Regions from separate parts of the Homo sapiens genome. Here all the other regions are linked to region 1. Evidence: promoter capture Hi-C in 16 types of primary human blood cells and fetal thymus (Javierre and others, 2016). All regions are on one chromosome and are shown on one strand. The core of a region is centred on a gene start or on the middle of the fragment in contact, and the rest is flanking DNA. Distances in the headings are between cores, read along the strand shown. Region 1 holds the start of PSPN (persephin). Region 2 holds the start of ADGRE1 (adhesion G protein-coupled receptor E1). Region 3 holds the start of NDUFA11 (NADH:ubiquinone oxidoreductase subunit A11).

Evidence for each region. The method cuts DNA at HindIII sites, captures the fragments that hold promoters and counts their contacts. A CHiCAGO score of 5 or more calls a contact.
Region 2: the fragment with the promoter of ADGRE1 here is called in contact with the fragment with the promoter of PSPN in region 1 in 3 of 17 cell types (neutrophils, total CD4 T cells and activated CD4 T cells); the score reaches 6.6 in neutrophils.
Region 3: a contact is called between the fragment with the promoter of NDUFA11 here and the fragment with the promoter of PSPN in region 1, in 1 of 17 cell types (fetal thymus). The highest score is 5.6, in fetal thymus.

What each region holds. Positions count from the first base shown.
Region 1 is chr19:6,374,649-6,377,226 of GRCh38, forward strand. It overlaps PSPN (persephin), which reads right to left and starts at 1,285. Exons shown (of 2, transcript NM_004158.5): 1 at 1,054-1,285; 2 at 500-968. The coding sequence starts at 1,201. The coding sequence ends at 646. ALKBH7 (alkB homolog 7) reads left to right here. Exons shown (of 4, transcript NM_032306.4): 4 at 163-602. The coding sequence ends at 325. The HindIII fragment of the contact is 10,611 bases long and covers 1-2,578 here.
Region 2 is chr19:6,886,303-6,888,880 of GRCh38, forward strand. ADGRE1 (adhesion G protein-coupled receptor E1) reads left to right here and starts at 1,277. Exons shown (of 21, transcript NM_001974.5): 1 at 1,277-1,337. The coding sequence starts at 1,307. RefSeq lists an enhancer at 1,271-1,330. The HindIII fragment of the contact is 2,856 bases long and covers 1-1,893 here.
Region 3 is chr19:5,902,493-5,905,070 of GRCh38, forward strand. It overlaps NDUFA11 (NADH:ubiquinone oxidoreductase subunit A11), which reads right to left and starts at 1,298. Exons shown (of 4, transcript NM_175614.5): 1 at 1,120-1,298. The coding sequence starts at 1,216. It overlaps VMAC (vimentin type intermediate filament associated coiled-coil protein), which reads left to right and starts at 2,380. Exons shown (of 2, transcript NM_001017921.4): 1 at 2,380-2,578. The coding sequence starts at 2,399. RefSeq lists enhancers at 730-1,376, 1,186-1,480, 2,054-2,173 and a silencer at 2,214-2,563. The HindIII fragment of the contact is 6,218 bases long and covers 641-2,578 here.

The DNA of each region.
Region 1 (2,578 bases), core at 35-2,534:
CCTGGGTACTTTCCCTCAATCCAGCCCTCCCCGAAGACGCCTTTACCCCAGGGTCTGTGTGGGAGGCAGCAGGGGGCTGGAATCCAGGAGGCTGGAATCCAGGTCTGCCTGGAGCAGGGGCTGCCCTCCTTGCACCCAGTCACAGCCTGTTTCTTCCTGCAGGGGCTCAGCCCGTTATGACTTCTCCCATGAGATCCTTCGGGATGAAGAGTCCTTCTTTGGGGAACGCCGGATTCCCCGGGGCCGGCGCATCTCCGTGATCTGCCGCTCCCTCCCTGAGGGCATGGGGCCAGGGGAGTCTGGACAGCCGCCCCCAGCCTGCTGACCCCCAGCTTTCTACAGACACCAGATTTGTGAATAAAGTTGGGGAATGGACAGCCTAACTGGGACATTGCAGTGGCTGCTTGCTGGGGCCGGGATTTGCAGGGGAACCCAGGATGGCACTGGCCCATAGGGAGCTCCAGGTGTGGCTGGCTGGACACATGGTCAAAGTCACAAGGCCGGGAGAGTGGTGTCCTTTATTGCACTCACTGCTGGTCGCCCCAGCCCACTCCCCTCCTCGTTGTCTCTGCATCCAGGTCTCCAATAAATAAGTCAGCCGAGCTCCCCCAGCACTGCAGCTTCTGGGTGCCAGGCCGGGCACCCTCAGCCACCACAGCCGCAGGCAGCCGCCGAGAGCTGGGGCAGCCGCTGCCAGCGGTGGCGGTCATCGAGGAAGGCCACGTCGGTGTAGCGAGTGGGCCGGCAGCAGGGCCCGCCGTGGGCTCGGCCCTGGCCCTGCAGCCGGGCCAGCGCCAGGCCATGCTGGGTGCGGGCACCACGGGGGCAGCTGCCGGCGCAGTAGCGGAAGATGACCTTCTCCTCTGAGGCGTAGCCCAGGCCTAGCTCTGCCACGGACAGGGTCAGGCTCCACAGCTGGCATGGACCAGACAGGGCTCGGCGCAGGCGGGCAAGGGGGCGGTGGGTGCCTGTGGGAGGGAAGGGCGCTGACAGTGAGCAGGGTCAGGGCTGGGGAAAGTTGGGAAGTCACAGAGGGTCCCTGGAAGTCCTTACCCAGCCAGGTCCCTCCAGCCTTTGCCACCTGTTCAGACGAGAACTCTCCATCGGCCACGGGAACCCCACGGGCATCGGGGCCCCAGCCCTGTCCCAGCTGCAGGGACAGGAGCAGCAGGGAGCCCAGCAGGAACTTCCCTACGGCCATTGTGACGGGCAGGTCCTGAGAGTGGGAGCTGTGCCCCAAATTTATGCCCTGCCTGGGCTGGGAGCTAACCTCTTCACTGCCGGCCCCTGCAGCCAGGAGGCCCCACGTCTGCACCAGCCCATCTCCTGCACCCTCGAATCCAGGCATCTGCTCCTTCTGCCCCACACCCCACCCTTCTAAGAGTTAAGGGCTCACCCCCAGCCTACCCCACCCCGACATTCCACACAGCCATTTCCGACGCCCCAGACACCCCCTGATTTACGAGTGCTGTGCTGGCGGCCAGGGCAGGCAACTGGTGTTCCCCCGACCTGCTGCCTGGAGTGGAAGTCAGGGGGCTTCATGGGACCCCGGTGGGGTCCCTCCCCACTAAGTCAGGGTGCTGGGGCTCAGGAGCCCCCACGTGTATCATGTGCCAGGTGGAGCATATGTGAGTGCTGGGAAAGGTGGCTTGGCAGGGGACTGAGTCCACGGGAACCCTCCATGGTGGCTCCCGCCTGGAGGATTAGGACATCATGCCCCTGTCTCCGGGCCTGGCTGAGCCAGCATCAAAACAGGAAAAGGGAGAGGCCTGGGGACAGCCAAGGGTGGGGACACAAGGGGACAGGGACGCCTGTCTCGGGAAGGCCAACCTGAGACCCCTATAACTGCAGCCCCATCCTGGGATCTGAGCATGTCAGAGCCCCCGGGGCGATGGAGGCTGTCCAGGTCATGGTAACGTCTAGCACGATGCAGACAGATAAGGGCTCTCGAGGCTTCCATACCCAGCCCCGTGTGAGCCCAGTCCCCTCACCGGTACAGGGGAGCTCCTCAGAACCCCTCCTACTCGGCTTGGTGAGGAAAGAGATGGGCACTTAGAGTGTAAGGCAGTGCCCGTAGCTTCGAATGCAAAAACAAGCAAACAGCTTGTGATTGTCCGAAGGGGTGCTTGACTCTAAGCACCCACAAGATTGGGGAAAATCAGAAAACCCTCACACACAACCCGTGTGACCCAGGTGCACCCTGTGCTGTTGGTGGGGGTGTAAATTGCTAGCAGCTCTTTGGATGAGCAGCTGCTACTGGGGAATTGTAAATTACACCCTCTGCCCCAGGAGCCCTGTTTGCGGGGTTCCTCCCACACAGGCAAGTGAAACAGCCAGCACAGGGACATCTGATGCCTTCTTCATATTAGGAAAGTCTGGAAGTGGCCTCAACTCCATCCGTGAGGGATTGCTTCGATGATTATGTTGTGGTTTTTCTTACTGAAGTGCTTATTGAGATGATAATTTTCCGATGGAAAGAAAAGCCTGGGCTTGGCGTGGTGGCTCATGCCTCGGGAGGCTGAGGCGGGTGGATTACCTGAGGTCAGGAGTTTGAGACCAGCTTGACCAACATGGTGAA
Region 2 (2,578 bases), core at 27-2,526, 510 kb after region 1:
ACGGGGTTTCCCCATCTTGGCCAGGCTGGTCTTGAACTCCTGACCTCGTAATCCACCCTCCTCAGTCTCCCAAAGTGCTGAGATTACAGGTGTGAGCCACGGTGCCCGGCCATGTCTGTATTTTCTATTTCCTTGGTGTGAGGCAATGAACCTCGGGTATTACCCCAGATGGATGACACTGCTTCAATATCTGCCAGTCACTACACTTTGTTATCAGTGGGATTACATCAACTGGAGCCCATTCTATCTGCTTGGAGGCCAGGCCTGAAGATTCAAGGGGTTGACACCCTCTAGGAGCAAGCCTCAAGTCAACCCATGACTGACAGTAGGTGGGATATAAATACCTCAGCTCCCTCACCCCTCGGTTGGAATAACTGAAGAGTATGTTCCATGCCGCTCCCCAGTCATCCCTGGGGAGGTTAAGTTCCACTTTCTCACCATGTAACTTATTTGAAGACACACCCAGTATTGGCTCTTTGCCTTTCCTGATTCACTTTCTCCTCCCCCAGCTGGTGCTTTCTGGGGCCACCTTCTTGATAAACTACTTTTGCTAGAATCCTTGTCTGAGGGTCTGCCCTTGTGAGACCCTAAGATGTTACCAGAGAGAGTTAGGAAGCTGGGAATGGGGTGGAAGTGTTGCTGTATAATCGTCAGACAGAGTTGAGATCTGAAGGAAAATAAGATGGTTAAAGCTCTTGACTCTGGAATCAGAGGGTCCTGGGTTCAAATCTCAAGTCTGAGAGATCTTGGACAAGTTATAACTCCTCTGCAAGTCTCAGTTTCCATTTTGTTGGTGAATAGAGGGAGGGAGGGGAATTCCTACTTTACAAGGTTAACATGATAATGAAATTACACTTTGTTGCCAATGTGCCTAGCACACTGCCTGGTACATGATGGTTGTGATGGCTGTCTTTATACGGGAGACTGGGAAGAGACCCTAAAGGCTGAGATTTGCTTCACTGGAGGCAGGAAGCGGAAGCTCCTTTATTGGGTGCAATGAAAGAAGGTGTTGAGAGATGGGAGATAGATGTTGATGGGAAAGAAAAAGGGAGAGACCATGGGAAGGAGAGAGAGAGAGAATGATATACATTAGGCAGATTAACTTCTCTTTATTGTGAAGAAAGGGGGAAATTAGGATTTTCTAGGCTGTCTTTTAGTTGCAGCAAGTCAGCAAAAAGGGCTATGATGACCAGGCAGCATTGAGCAACTCTGACTCCGCCTTCCCCTCTTCGCACACCTTCTGGTTACTGAAAACCCAGCGTTAGTAGAAAAGTTTCTTTTCTTTGAATGACAGAACTACAGCATAATGCGTGGCTTCAACCTGCTCCTCTTCTGGGGTGAGTGTGAGGCTGAATGGGGGGCTAGGGGAGGCCTGGATTGGAAATAGACTTCAGGAGAAATGGGAGGGCCATGGATGGTCCAGCCAAGAGATCATAAGTCCAGACTGGATGCTGCAAACACCTTCATTCAGGGAACCTTTGACAAAATTCCATAGCTCAGGGAAGTCCATCTGTTAGGATAGATTTTTCTCTATAGTCATTCATTTGACCTGAGCAAGTCCTGTGTGTCAGGTGCTGTTCTAGGCACTAGAGGATATAGCAGTGAGAAAAAAAGACTAAGTTCCTGCACTCTTGAGGCTGATATTCTAGTGGGTAGGAGCAGACAGGAAAGAAGGCACAGATGATCATAGCCCACTTAGCACTGCTGTAACTTCTTTAAACATAGAGTGTATCCAATTGTCACAACATTTCTATGACATTGGGTCATTATTAGTCCTATTTTGCAAATGAGAAAACTGAGGCAAAAGAGATAAAATAATTTTCCCAAGGCCACTTAGTCAATAAGGGGTAGAGGCAGGATTTCAAGCCAGACAGTCTGACTTCAGAGTCTGTAAGCTTTTCCACTATACTATGTTGCCCCAAAAAATAAGTAAACATAGGAATTTCAGGTAGTGATAAGTGCTATGAAAGAAGTTGTTATAGAATGTGGTCGGGAGTTATGTTGAAGGGAGAAGTCTGGGGTTGAGGAGGGGCAGTTCGAGCTGAGTCCTGAAGGATGAGATAGACCCTTCCTGTGCTCTTATTTCTCTTTCTTCAGGTGTCAGTTTGTCTCAGCCTTGTTTATCTTCTGTGTTTCTGGTTTTTCTTCTATGTCTTGTGTGTTTTGGTCATTGGATCAAATTTAAGAATGGAGGATATTGGGGACATATTCTAAGTAGCAAGTATGGGTTTCCTCTGCTGTTGAAGAGTGGATCTGAATACCCTATTTTACCAAGGAGGAAACTGAGGCACAAAGAGATTAAATAACTTCCTCAAGGCCACGCAATCATTAATTGGTGAAGCCAGATTTTTAAACCTAAGCACTTTGACTTCAGACTTTGTATGCCTAAACAGCATGCTGAATTACCTCTAAAATAATTAATGAATGAGTAGAAGAATTTTTGTTAGTAATAATAGATAGAATTTGGGAGTTTAGATCTGTGGGACTTGTTGACTGGCAGGCTACATTAGAAGAAATAGGTGGCCTGTGGACATCAAATGTAGGCATGCAGAGTTGTTATTTTGGGGTGTTGGCAATG
Region 3 (2,578 bases), core at 48-2,547, 470 kb before region 1:
TGGCCTCAAGCGATCCTCCCACTTTGGCCTCCTGAGCGCCGGATTACAGGTGTGAGCCACCGCGCCTGGCCCAGTTTGTAAAGATTCTTCATCAGAGGGAAGAGGACTTCCAGCTCCATCTGGGACCTGATGAGTCCCAACCTGTGGCTGAGAATTAAAGGGCATGATGCCCATGAAACGCTCAGGCTGGAAGGGGCAAGACTCAGATTTACTCTATAAGAGAATGCCAGGGCCGGCCGGGCATGGTGGCTCACGCCTGTAATCCCAGCACTTTGGGAGCCCGAGATGGGCGGATGGCCTGAGACCAGGAGTTCCAGATCAGTCTGGCCAACACGGTGAAACCCCGTCTCTACTAAAAATACAAAATAATTAGCCAGGCGCGGTGGCGTGAGCCCGTAATCCCAGCTACTTGGGAGGCTGAGGCAAGGGAATTGCTCGAACCAGGGACGTGAAGGTTGCAGTGAGCCGAGATCTCGCCACTGCAGTCCAGCCCGGGCGACAGAGCAAGGCTCTGTCTCAAAAAAAAAAAAAAAAAAGGAGAATGCCAGGGCTTGCGGGTCCCCTTCATTCCCCTGCAAGGCTACCCTCATAGTAGCTCCTGATCCACCTCACCTAGGACCTCTCTGGCGGTCCCAGTAAAAGCTTCAGGTGTCCCTAACCACCCAGCACCCCCTGACCACAGAAAGACCTCATCCCACCCCAAAACTTTCTCAAACATCTGTACCGCCCTCAGATGCCCCAATCATGACTCATGATCCCCTCTAACAATCTCTACCCCGTTGGAAAGTCTCGTGGTCCCTTAGCTCCTTGGACCTGATAATAGCCCTGTCTCACTCCACAATTTCCCCGAGCCTGGCGATAGCTTGGGACCGCCTCAGATGACCCCAGGGACTAGCTTGTCGCATGTCACGACCTCCCAGTGCTCCCCAACCCTGCTGGACCCCCTACCAACATCCATTTCACACAAGATCCCCCCCTACGACCGCCCAAGACACCCCGATGACAACCACGTGCGTACCCGCGAGACTCCCAGACCCGTTCGATCCAAACAGCCCCCAGTAACCCCACGACCTCCCTGCGGCCTCGGCCCTCCACCCTCGGGGCCCGGCCGGCGCTCACCAGCGACGCTGGCAATACTGGTGGTGCTGTAGGCTTTGCGGTGGCAATCGGTGCCATCGGGGATATCCCAGTACTGACGAAAAACCTTCGGCGCCATAGCCCGCAATCTCGATCCCGCACCACGGACCCCGCCAGCTCGGGAAGCGCAAGGGCAGCCGCGGCTGGCTATCGCGAGACTTCTCGGGCTGCGCGCGCAACCTTTCGGGCTAGCGGGCCGGCAACAAGTGAGCAACTTTATTGATAGGCGCGGACATGGACATGGATCGCGCGCACGCGCCGGGGACCGGCCTGGAGGAAGAGAGTAGCACGTGCATCCCCAGGCCGATTCCTAGAGGGTGAAACTGAGGACGACTGCGATCAGTGCAGACAGATTTCGCTAGTCCCAGCTCAGGGAGTCCTAGGTTAGGGACTACTAGAGGCGGGGACTATCTACTAGGGGAGGGGCCGGGCTCAGACTGGGACGGGCGGGACTCCAGTTGATAGGAGCAAGACATGACGAAACAATGACTGGGGGGCGGGGCATGGCGGGGATGTGGCCACACCCAGTGTCAGAATCTGCATAGCGAGTGGTCATGCCCTGTGGTCAGTCACCAAGCTGGAGTCTGAGCAGCGTGCTACTGTTTTGGGCCGTGGACAGGATCAGGGGCGGGGATTATCGGGAAAGTGACCAATGACAATACGAGAAGCTCAGCGGGACGTGGCCTCTGTTCACCCCGCGGCTGTCCCACGCCCTAGGCCGGATGAAGTACACAGGCGCTTGACTTGGGGGCGTGGCTAGAATTGGAGGCATAACCTAAAAGGGACTTGACCAATCTGAGACTGTATAAGGGATGAAGGGGCGAGGCCGTGCCTGGATCTACCCCTGACAGGCCACAGGTTCGGGGGGCGTGGTCAGGCTTGCTGTTTCGCGGAGTCCGGGCCAATCCTGGTGTTAGCTTCCAAGTAGGGAGGGGACAGTATCGAAGGTGTGACCAATCTTGTTTCCAGAGCCTGAGTTGCGCGAGCCGCCAAAGGATGTGGCCAGCCTGGGGGCGTGGCTGTCAAGATCTTGTCCAATCCTAGAGTGAGCCCAAACTCAGGGGCGGAGTTTCATGATCCCGGAACCGGTGGTAGTGTTTGGGTTTGAGGAGAGCACGACCCAGCCCTCTGGGGTGGGGTCTAGCGGGGTCAGCGACCAATCGCGCCGAGGTCTAGTGGGGCGGGGCCCTCCCGGGGGCGGGGCCTGTGCCAGTTCCGGGCCGCCTGGGGGCGTGGCCGGGCCTGTACAGCAGCCTGGGCCATGTCGGCGCCGCCGGCCCTGCAGATCCGGGAGGCAAACGCACACCTGGCAGCCGTGCACCGGCGCGCAGCGGAGCTGGAGGCGCGGCTGGACGCGGCGGAGCGCACGGTGCACGCCCAAGCCGAGCGCCTGGCCCTCCACGACCAGCAGCTGCGCGCCGCCCTAGACGAACTGGGTCGC